Regions from separate parts of the Homo sapiens genome. Here region 1 is linked to region 2. The links are contacts of gene promoters, found by promoter capture Hi-C in blood cells and fetal thymus (Javierre and others, 2016). All regions are on one chromosome and are shown on one strand. The core of a region is centred on a gene start or on the middle of the fragment in contact, and the rest is flanking DNA. Distances in the headings are between cores, read along the strand shown.

Evidence for each region. The method cuts DNA at HindIII sites, captures the fragments that hold promoters and counts their contacts. A CHiCAGO score of 5 or more calls a contact.
Region 1: a fragment that was not itself captured here is called in contact with the fragment with the promoter of TNP1 in region 2 in 1 of 17 cell types (neutrophils); the score reaches 6.2 in neutrophils.

What each region holds. Positions count from the first base shown.
Region 1 is chr2:217,659,620-217,665,711 of GRCh38, reverse strand. The region is part of intron 2 of DIRC3 (disrupted in renal carcinoma 3); the gene reads left to right. Among named protein-coding and RNA genes, the nearest start is that of DIRC3, 130 kb to the left of the region's middle. The HindIII fragment of the contact is 1,105 bases long and covers 3,813-4,917 here.
Region 2 is chr2:216,855,930-216,861,833 of GRCh38, reverse strand. TNP1 (transition protein 1) reads left to right here and starts at 1,770. Exons shown (of 2, transcript NM_003284.4): 1 at 1,770-1,938; 2 at 2,139-2,376. The coding sequence starts at 1,800. The coding sequence ends at 2,167. It overlaps LOC124906118 (a long non-coding RNA gene), which reads left to right. Exons shown (of 3, transcript XR_007088082.1): 2 at 852-909; 3 at 1,474-1,580. It overlaps LOC124907979 (a long non-coding RNA gene), which reads right to left and starts at 5,437. Exons shown (of 2, transcript XR_007088084.1): 1 at 5,265-5,437; 2 at 4,057-4,690. The HindIII fragment of the contact is 13,346 bases long and covers 1-5,275 here.

The sequences.
Region 1 (6,092 bases), core at 3,116-5,615, 800 kb before region 2:
GTCCCCTAGGAGTGGTGTTGTTATTAATGACATTTGGGAGGCAGAGTTCAGAGGTACTACTAAACAGTCTATAATGTATGGGACAGCCCCACCCACCAACCCTGCCCACAACAAATGATTGTCAGGTCCCAGATGTCAATGTACTGTAGAGAATCAATAATCCCTGGTTGAATTTCTCAAATTGCTGGCACAAGTGTGTCAAGGGTTAATATAGTCTTAGAACGGCACTGTGTTCATATCCTGGTGGATAAGCCAGGGAGTATGGCCTTTGAGTACAGTGGTACAGACCAACAAAATAAATTTTAAGAATGTTCCAAACACTTGGTTTGTGTCCTAAGAACTTTTTGTGAATCTGTCAGCTCCTGGAGAAAATGATATTGAAGGTTCCTTCCAACCTTGGTATTCTAGAATTCAGTGCACACCAAGCCTGTCATGAGCAGGCAAAGATAAAGGCTGCTGGCTGTTTGAACTGGAGACCTCATTCAGGAAGATCTCATTTTTTGGAAACTCTATCCATGCTCTCAAATGTACTAAAGTTCTTTAAATGAAGAATTTTTTCCCCCTTTGAGAACTTGTTGCAAGGTAAAATGCAGACCACTAGTAGAATTTTGAGCATATTCTACTAATCAACCATATTCTTGAGTGTTTATCTTGGAAAGAATACATCAACAAATTCTCCTTAAATAGTCAGCATAAATGCTAAGAAATTTTCTTTAGTTCAACCCAAGTCATTGTTGGCAAAGCGTGCTGCTTGGGAAGACTCAGGCAGAGACAGTGCCAACATGTGGGTCCACTCAGGAGGGGACTGGAACTGGGATGCTAAGGAGGGGAGGGTTGTTTACATTCATGGGAGGAAGAGAGGTAGCAGGAAGGAGGAATATAAGGAGGTTGTTTGGCAGACAGTGAAGTCTAGAGAAAAGCATGGGACAGGAGAACCGTGTGGGGTTCCACAGGAAGGCTGGTCTGATAAGAGTGGAGGATGTTTTTTTTTTTTTGGTTTTTTTTTTTTTTTTTTTTTTTTTTAGGGACAGAGTCTTGCTCTGTGGCCCAGGCTGGAGTGCAGTGGCATGATCTTGGCTCACTGCAAGCTCCGCCTCCCAGGCTGATGCCATTCTCTTGCCTCAGCCTCCCCCAGCACGAGTAGCTGGGATTACAGGCTCCCGCTACCACGCCCGGCTATTTTTTTTTTTTTTTTGTATTTTTTAGTAGAGATGGGGTTTCATCCTGTTAGCCAGGATGGTCTCGATCTCCTGACCTCGTGATCTGCCCGCCTGGGCCTCCCAAACTCCTGGGATTACAGGCGTGAGCCACCACACCCAGCCGGAGGATGGGTTTTACACATGGTCTTGGATGAGTTGACTCAGTTTCATTGGAGGTGGGTTCAGTCCAAAAGCACAAGAAAGTGCTTCTATATCTCTAAGAGTAGTGGTCCCCCAAACCAGCAGCTCATTAGAATCACCTGAGCACCTTTTAAAACATTTAGATTCCAAAGTCCCATCCTTGGAGGGTCTGATTGTGTGGGTTTGGGGTGAGGCCCAGGAATCTTTAATTTATAAAAGTTCTCCAGGTGATTTTTGACACTCATTCAGGTTTGGCAGTCAGTGCTTCAGATAGAGAAAACTAACTGTGGAGCTGCTGATGGCTAAGGGGTTGCAAAGGCATGGATCATCAGTCAAACAATTGAAGAGATGTGGGACTGTGTTAGGTGATGCGAAAGGTGCAAGACATGGAGTGGCCATTTTTAAAGAGCTTGTAAAGTGTTTCAGAAAAGGCAGTGGGTGCAAACCCAAGGAGAGTTGACTGTGCAAATAATACAAGAGGGCCTGGCAAGGGGCAAATTGGTGGTTGAAGTGACTGGGGTGGACAGAGAACTTCAGGGAAGGGTTGAGGTGGATGTGAGCCCTTCCTGGAATGATGGGTAGATGTCACTGGGCAGGGTAGATTCAGGCAAAGGCTTCAGGTTTATAAATTCAGGGAGACAAACGAGGAAGAGGTCATGGGGTGCAGTTGTGCGATATCCAGGGTTTGGAAAAAGGCTTTGGTCTTGGATTCAGGAAGGATGGGCATAGCAAGGAATCTTTTGGGAAATTCAGTGGATTTGTTGCCAGGGGACCTCTCTTCCCCTCCTTGTCTCAGGGCTGTGCCATTATGTTTCTCAAAGAGGGGCCTGCTTGAGTCCAGGGTGTGTGGCTACAACTACTCAGAGATCTGGCAGGTACATCTGTCGTCGAGGAAAGAACTTGGATGTGAGACTTTAAGAGCCTCTGAGGACACAGCTGATGTCCAGGCTGCAGTCATTCCCCACCTAGGGGTGTGAACATATCTGGCCACAGTCATTCCAGCCCTGTTTACAAGTGTTTCTCTTCCCCTCCAAATAAAACCAATTAGATGATTTTGCTCCTCAAGCAACAACCTTACTAAAAAAAAATAGCTTGTATTTATTGAGGGCTTACTCTAGACCTGATATATAGAAAAAGGGTTTCAGTTGCATTTTCTTAATGGATCTCAACATAAATTCTTGTGATAGTTACTATATGAGTCAGTTTTCCAGAGAAACAGAGCAAATAAAGACAGATTTGGCCCCAGTAATGATGGAGACTGGCAAGATCTGCAGAGCCAATGCTCTACAGACTATTGGGTAGGAGAATTTTTTCTTACTCAGGGGAGAGTCAGTCTCCTGTTATATTCCGGCCTTCAACTGGATAAGGTCCACCCACATTATGGAAGGCAACTTGCTTTACCTAGTCTACTAATTTAAATGTTAACTTCATGCAAACACCCTCACAGAAACAGTCAGAATAATGTTTGCCCAAATGTGTGGCCCAGTCAAGTTGACACATGAAATCAACCATCATAGGTACTATGAAGATCAACTTTCTTATTTTGTAGAGGAGGAAGGGAGGCACAGATAGGTGGAGTAAAGTGCCCAAGGTGACATGGCTAGTAGGCAGCGGAGCTGGGGTTTCAGCTTATGGAGCCACTGCCTGACCTTCCTAAGCTTTGGCTTTTAATAACTATCTCCCTCATGGAAAGGGAGGGAGATAGTAAATCACTCCTGCTGTGATTCTGAATAAATAGGAATTAGTATTAAATTATGAACTTCAAACAAAATCAAGTGCAGAAGCACAGCATGGTGAAAGTCAACTGAAGTTGCAAGGCATGGCAATCATAAATCATTGCTCCTTTTTTATTTATTTATTTTTTGGGGATGGAGTTTCACTCTTGTTGCCCAGGCTAGAGTGCAATGGTGCAATCTCGGCTCACCGCAACCTCCGCTTCCTGGGTTCAAGCAATTCTCCTGCCTCAGCCTCCCAAGTAGTAGCTGGGATTACAGGTGCATGCCACACCTCCTGGCTAATGTTTTGTATATAGTAGAGACGGGGTTTCACCATGTTGGTCAGGCTGGTCTCAAACTCTTGATCTCAGGTGATCCACCAACCTCGGCCTTCCAAAGTGCTGGGAATACAGGCATGAGCCACTGTGCCCAGCCAAATCACTGCTATTAAGAAAGTTAATGCAAATCACTAAATCACTCCTAAGGTGCTCTAGCAAACCAAAGTGGATATCTTAGACCTCTGAATGTCTCTACCATACCTTCCTAGATGCCTAGAGTTACCCCAGGAAGCAAAGTATTTGGGGGGCATCATTAAACATTTTGCCCTATGGTCTTTTGTTTTCTGGGGGCAGACAGGGTGTATGTGTCTTCTATCAGCTAGCTATTAGGCTTAATCAGCAAGCCTCAGCCTGTCTGATTTATCTAGGGACACTGCATCCTCGCTGGGCCAAGGGATGGAGAGCTTGATATGTAAGCTTAGCAGGAGCAGGCTCGATCTCTTGTCTGTGGCCTGATCTCCTTTGCCACCACCGGGGCAACCTGAATAGCCCAAGAACAGCAAGGAGACACTGAACTCTTGGAGGAAGTAGCAGGCTTCTGAAAGGACTGTGTTTGCTTAATATTTCCAGTGGTGGGAACCTCACAAAGTAACCCATTTTATTTTTAAAGCACTAAAGTAACTTTCCTCTCCTATTGAGATCTGCTTCCTCTTATTCCAGAGTAACAGAATAAATTGTCTCTTTCTTACAGGAAAACCTTTGAAATATTTGAAAACTGGGATCATTTCCCCATGAGACTTTTCTTCTCTAAGCAAAATACTTTCAGTTTCTTCTAGCATTCTTTTTGTGATGTGGTTTATAGACCCATTTTTGGCCTTGTCTTCCTCTGGCTATGGTCTATGCCCTCCTTTTTAAATCCCAAATGTTCTACTTCCAATCTGACCAATGCACTAATAAAGTAGAAATATCACCTCTAAAGTCTTGAACATTAGGTATTTGTTGATGCAGCCCAGCTGCATTAACTTTCTTAAGAGAAATTATTTATTATTGTCTTGTCTTACACCTGCAGTTAACTTAAATTATCTTTTACCCCGCTATGCTTTTGCACTTGATTTTTTTAAATTTGAAGTTCAGAATTTAGTTTAATGAATTAATTCCTATTTATTAAGAATTGAATAGTAATTCTTTTGTTTGTTAGTTATGACTCATATTGCAATCTGACTCTGCCATCTAACATCTCTCTACTGATTTGTGGCTAAGGGAAAATAGGGAGGAACATTGAAGAGAAAGACCTCTTCTCCACACCTTTGTCTAATGATGTTCTTCTGCAGGAGGAAGGAGAACTGCAGAATACTGGTCCTATATTGGGGAGTGGAGAATCCAAGGCTTTTAAGGGGTAGGATTAGGATCCAGGCCAATATGCAAGAAGTGAGTTCCTAAAATGGAAAAAGAAGACGATGCTGCATTTTCCTTTTCTGTTTTCCCTTGTGTCTGGGATCTGAGAACAAGAGTGAATCCAGTAGCTAAGGACACAGATCTTGATGGAAAGACCTAGTGCAAAGGATCCAGTTGGTATTCAAAGCTTTTGTATGTACCCTTTATGTTTCCTTTGGGGCTTAATCTGGTTTCTTTCAGGTCATTGGGCCCAGAAGCTAATAGAAGATATGGTTCTTGCCCTTGGAAAGAAGCTGACTGGTTTGGGGAAGAAGATTTGCATGTGTGAAACCACAACAAAGTGTCTAGGAATGAAGACAAATTTGTGCTAAGTGGTGTGGAGTTGACCACAAGCCACAAGGGGGTCTATGTAGGAGGGTACAGGAGAGGGACAGGCCCACCAGGGAGTATCCCAGAGGAAGTGGGAATAGAGCTGGATTCTGAAGGATTTGGAAGGAGAAGAAAGAAGCAAAGTCTTTTAAGGGTAAAGAAGGACATGAACAAAGTGGGTGGTGGTGACAATATCTCTGCAGAGACTGAGGGATGGAAAACAGACCGGTTCTTCTTCAGACAATGGAAAAACTCTCTGCTGAGAAATACTTGTTGGCAAAAACCTTTCAAAGTCCCCATTCTTGGATCTGACTCGGCTTCACCATTTCTCTAACCACCAGCCAAATCTAGGCGCTCTTTTCCTCGTTTCCGGATTCTTTTTTAAAATTAAAAATTTAAATTTATTAATTTAAAACAAATAATAATTGTGTTTATTTAAGAGAGTACCATGTGATGTTTTGATCTATGTATATATTATAGAAAGGGTTAATCTAATTAACATATCTATCACCTTGCCAACTTAGCAATGTTTTTCATGGTGAGGACATTAAACATCTATTCCTTTAGCATTTTTGAACTATACAATACATTAGGAACTGTGGTCATCATGCAGTGCAATGGATCACTAAAATATCTTATTCTTCCTGTCTAACTGAAACTTTGTACCCATTGACCAACATCTTCTTTCCCATTCCACCTCCTCCCCCTCAGCCTCTGATAACCACCTTTCTAGTCTCTGTTTCTATGAGGTCAAATTTGTTAGATATCACATATAAGTGAGATCATACTGTATTTGTCTTTCTGTGCCTGGCTTATTTTACTTAGCATAATGTCCTTCAGGTCCATCCACGTTCTTCGTGCCTTCTTTGCTGGTCTTCTTCCCTCCATCTTCCTAAACTCTCACTCAAGATTCATATTAATTTTTTTTTTCAAACACAGGCAGGGATGAGCAAGATACAAAGAGGCACATTCATGTAGCCCCAGTTTCAAATATT
Region 2 (5,904 bases), core at 521-3,020:
AGCAAACAAGTTCTATAGAAATCCGAATGAGGCGGGCACAGTGGCTCACGTCTGTAATCCCAGCACTCTGGGAGGCCAAGGTGGGCAGATCACCTGAGATCAGGAGTTCAAGACTAGCCTGGCCAACATGGCGAAACGCTGTCTGTACTAAAAATACAAAAATTAGCTAGGCATGGTGGCACACGCCTGTAATCCCAGCTACTCAGAAGGCTGAGGCAGGAGAATTGCTGGAACACAGGAGGCAGATGTTGCAGTGAACCAAGATTGTGCCACTGCACTCCAGCCTGAGCAAAAGAGAAGACTCGGTCTCAAAAAAAAAAAAAGAAAGAAACATTTTCAAAAGCAAAGCATTTACTATGAGGTGTAATGGAGGAAAAAGGAAAGGCTGGATGACTTATACACCAATAATCATTCAATATATCTATTTGTAAGTGTCAAAGGCACTTCAAAGCTGGTATGTCTTATACCAAGTACATGATCATCACTCTCCCCATGTCTGGCCTTTATCCCCATGAATGGCACCAGCATCCAGATAACTGCATTATACAGAAACAAAAGCCACACCCTTGACACCATCTGCTTTCACCTCCCAAATTCAATCCGTCACCAAGCCTTGGTCTCTTGTCTACTTTAGATCTCAATCAACACCTTTCCTGGCCAGACCTAAACCATCATCAAATCTTTCTCTCTGCTGAACCATTGATGTTGACAGTAGCATCTCCCTTTACACAGCTCCTCCAGTCAATACATCACCCACTTGGCACCCTCTAATCTCACATGCCATCCTCTTAACATTTTTAAAGGCTTCCCAATGTACTTGATCATGGTTTGATCTCTGTCTCTCCCTCCAGCCTCATCCTGTACCATGTAGGGAGTTTCCCTCTGCCCTTCTCCAGCCAAAATGACTCCGTAAGTACTTACTCACTGATTTATGTAGACATCTGATGAATGGCTTTCTCCCCAGTGGGCTGAGAGTTCCATGAGCACAGTATCTACGTGTGTTTATCCTCCACTAATTTTCTACCACCTAAATGTATGGCATATGCTATGTGATCAATATCTGTGACTGAATTTTAAAAAATGATTAGGTTAATTGTTCTGAACCAGAGCCATTTTTTCCCTCACTTCCCCAGCCTCCCAAAGAAACAGGTGGCAATGTTTGGGAATATTTTGGGTTGTCATAGCTGCCAGGCTTCTCTGGTGTCCAGTGGGTAATGGCCAGGGATGTTGCCAAACATCCTAGGGTGCACAAGACAGCCCACTGAAAGTTACCCTGCCCATTGTGTCAACAGTGCCAAGACTGAGAAATCCTGACCTAGATGAAAAAGAAGGAATATTTCTATTTTGATCATATTGAATTGGGTTCTGTAGAGTCAAGTCCTTACAGAAATAAATTTATTATCTCTGGATGCTGTGAGAGACTTAAACAGTCATGCATACACACACACTCAATGACTGTTACATTTCCTACAGGCAGGAGAAGCATATCTGAATGGTCTCTTGTACTCATCCAATGCCTGGCACAGGGCTGGGATTCAGTTTCTCAATAACACCTCTCTGGGAAAGCCTCACTTAACATAAAAAGGACCTCAAAACTGAGGGCAGCCCTTGAGCTGCACGAAAAGGACCACCTTATTTCACAAATGTGACCAAAGTGCAGCAAAGGTGAGTGACAGCACAGTAGAGCCCCGCCCACCTGCTGAGCCATGCCCCTTCCCTGTCACAATGGCCAAGGCCTTAAATACCCAGACTCCTGGCCCCCGGGCCTTGCAAAGCCCCTCATTTTGGCAGAACTTACCATGTCGACCAGCCGCAAATTAAAGAGTCATGGCATGAGGAGGAGCAAGAGCCGATCTCCTCACAAGGGAGTCAAGAGAGGTGGCAGCAAAAGAAAATACCGTAAGGGCAACCTGAAAAGTAGGAAACGGGGCGATGACGGTGAGTGAGGGATGGGGAGGAGATTGCCAAACTTAGGCACACATTGCTGCCAGGCCCTCCCTCTTGGAGGCAGCTCTCACAGGACCCTGAAATCTTGGCCTGAGATTATTTCCAATAACTAAATGCAGATTTGAGCAACAAGAGTCTTGATGGGAATGTTCTAATTCGTGTCTCTGTTGCAAACCTGTCCTTTCCCACAGCCAATCGCAATTACCGCTCCCACTTGTGAGCCCCCAGCGGGCTCTGCCCTGGTGCGCTTCACACAGCACCAAGCAGCAACAAGAACAGCAGAAGGGGAACTGCCAAGGAGACCTGATGTTAGATCAAAGCCAGAGAGGAGCCTATGGAATGTGGATCAAATGCCAGTTGTGACGAAATGAGGAATGTATATGTTGGCTGTTTTTCCCCAACATCTCAATAAAACTTTGAAAGCAGAAATGTTTACTTTGATCTTTTGGTTGGAAAGACTTGAGTTCCTGAGCTAGGTGGGTTTGGGGAAGAATTGGCCAGTATGAAACCATTAAATGTGACTTGGAAAATATCAAAAGTAATTTGTCCTCCAATTCCCTCCCACCACCGTGGGAGGTGGTCCTACTCTGGCCACACACTATTGCCGTATTTGTCTTCATCCCAGTGTGCTGTCTCTCTCCTCAACATGGAAAGGGAGAAGAGATAAAAAAGGGAGAAATGCATTCATTAGCATTAACCAAAGGATTCAAGCTGTTTTTGTTAGAGCTTAAACCAAAGGATGCAAGCTGTTTTCGTCAGAGCTTATAGCATAGAGGTGTTGAAAGCTAAACTAAATCTAAAGACTTGGCCCGGAGATAGAGATCACCTGGAGGAGCTCTTAGAAGCTCTTAATTCATTGATCATATGGGCAGTATTAGCAGGCTAAGAGATGGGAACACCTTCTGAACAGAGACCAACATGTTCTTTGTAAAGGATCCTATTGGTAACAGTGGAAGTGATGAGAGTTTAGATTTCTTTAGGTTATTTTGGTAGCTATGTTGGGCTTGAGGTGGGCAAGACTGAAGAGTGGGATATTGCCTCGTAGCATGCCATAAGCCTTAGTCCAGTGTGCCTAGAAGTAGGAATTGTCTCAATCTGAGTATTGATCATTTGACAGAGAGAGAGAGAGAGAACTGACTTTAGGGATAGAGCTGGTTCTGCTCATTTAGGAAATTCCTAAGCCCTCACTTTACCTTGTCCCTGAGTTGTAACACAATTTATGATGTCTCTGGTCAAGGATATGACATTCACCCACTCAGAGGTGGATCGTATTTTTCTTGTTTCCTGTTGCCTCAGAGGTAGCTCCAGGGTAGAAATGAGACTCATATTTAAACTCAAGAACCAACCACCCACGTGGTTTCTGGGGAAGTAACCAGGAAAGGGTATAAGCAGGAAGGAATGAGGGGGCATGAGGTTAGACACGAAGTTTCCAGCAGTCAGGGGTGTGAGACATGGGAAGAGGACACTATTAAGTCTGAGCCTCATGCAAATGTGTGGGTACCAGGATGTTGGTCCTATAAGGGGTGGCAAGGGGTGTTCCTGTGGGTCAGAATCTAGAAATGCAATAAAAAAAAGCATGTTCATTTTTCAGATAAGTTATTTCACTTGTTGGGGTAAAATATTTCAAGTCCTCACTCTTCCATAACCCTAAGAATGAGCATGCTGATTCAGAGCTGTTTTCAAGTTCATGTGAAAAACATCTCTCCTTACCATCAGGCACACAGATACTTCAAAGTTTTCCATTGTCAGTTTCCCTTTTTGTTAAATGGAGGATAGGGATAGGGAAAATGCTTCATAACCCTCATCCTCCATGGTTGTGTATATTTTACCTCCTAAATGTGACTTTTGTTTGTCTTTGCTTCTCTAACCAAACTCAGATTAGTCTCAAATAATCCTATATGTGTCCGTAGTGTCACTGAACGAAGCTCTAACTTCTTAGAAGTTTGCACACATATCTGATCTGGATTCCCTCCTTCAAATCTCTGAAAGAACTCATCAGCCATGGCTCTCACCCTGCTCTCATGCCTCCTGGGACTTCCTCTGCCTCTGTATAAAATATAAACACACTTTGCAACACATGAAATCTAGAAAATAAATCCAAAAAGTAAAAATTGTTTAATTATTTTAATGTGCTTTTGCTGCTCTTGCTGTAAATTCTTTTAAACTTAGCCTCATAGGTTGGGTTCTCAGGGAGTGGAGATGGAGCTTGAATGCAAGATGTTTATTAGAGGTCAGTACTTGAAGAGGGAGGCTGCAGGGTCGTACAGAAGAAGGAGCTGCACAAACCATCAGGCAGTATAGCCAGGCCTTTATACCATTTATACCCCCCCTGGCTGGGCTGCGCCAGTAAGACATGGCATTTCCCTGCTGAGGCAGACTCAGAAGGGAGCATCAGCTGGAGGTTCCTTGGTGGACCACACACCCACAATCTGAGCAGCTCACCTCGGTGTCTATTACAATTGCTCTCTGGATGATCTGTATCTTTTCTCAGCCTCTGGTCCCCATCTTCCCCTTAAGCCTCTTCACAGCTTGCTGCCTTGCCACTTCCTGCTATGACTGTGTGTCATGAGTCTTCAAATGCTCTTGTGCACAGCTCACTTCTTGTGGATTGCCAATTTGCACAAAGATGACCTCTCCCATAGGACAAAGTCAACAGTCAGGAACAAACTAGAATACCGTGATGCTGAGTGTGCAACATTTACTTCCCTCAGGAAACTTGTTATGATTAGGGAGCCACAGATCCCTGCAGATGGTCCAAATGAAGACTTTGTCAAAGGGATTATTTACAGAGGAGAGACACCTAGAGCCTACCAATGAGGTCTTCAGACCCTTAGGACTGAGAAGGCAAAAGGGCAAAATAGCACAACAGGAGCCCATTGACAGCCAAAACTGTGTGTGGGAAGGAATGGTTGTGAATGGACCTCCTGGTAAAATCTGTACTAGGAGGATCGCAGCTGTTGTCAGGCTCAGACACAGGGAAGAAACATTCCATCATTTATCTAATCTCCTGCTGCTGCTCTCATTGGCGAAATTCAGAAGTCAGCAGACAAGAGACCCCAGGTGACACAGAGCATAAGGGCCAGCCCCCTGGGGCATCAAAGAGCAGAGAATGTTGGATAAAATCTCCAAAATCCAACAGTGATATCTGACACAACTTTGTAGACAAAATTCTTCTTTCCCTGGACTCCTTAGAAGTTTGCCACTTTATCAACCTGCTTATCTCCTCCCTTATGTTGTCATGGACCGAAGTCCCTTCAGAAGCAAATTGTAGAGAGATAGAGTGAGGAGAGAGTTACACAGGGCTCCTGAACCCTCACCTTAAAAAGCTTGTTTTCATGTTATTTGCATGACAGTATTATCCCCAAACCAATACAACGCAATGTTCTAATGTAGTGCTATATCTTCACAATACTCTAAACACTGAAACAATCTAATTAATCATCAGGACAGGCCTGTGGTGAACAGCCCAAGACTAGCCACGGCAGACAGATCTTCGCCTGGTGACTTCAGCCTCTGCCCTCTTAGACAGGTTGTGAAGGAATGGTAGCCGCCCGGAAAACTCTGCTTTGCACTGGGAACTTTTTCCAGACCCACATATTGGAAGTTTTTCAACACTGGCATTGATGTAGTCTCTGTACCCCAGGAATATTCATTCTGTCCCTCTGTTTACAGTTCCTGTAGGCCCAGCACCTGCAAGGCACGTGTAGGGGTCTTTGACCATGGGGACTCTCTTTCAGAAAACCCAAAGGCCTCACCCCCTGTGTGCTTTTTCTCCATCTCCCTAACCAAGGAGGACTTTGTTTCCCTCCCCAGTTTTCTCCAGAACGCTATGTCCTAAAGTCATCACTTGTTTGGAAAAGTGAAAAATCAAAAAAAAAAAAAATGAAGGATCTTGGCCACAAGCCCTTTTGGGTCACCTTGACCTTCATGTGAGCTGACTTGGATATGGGGCCTCTG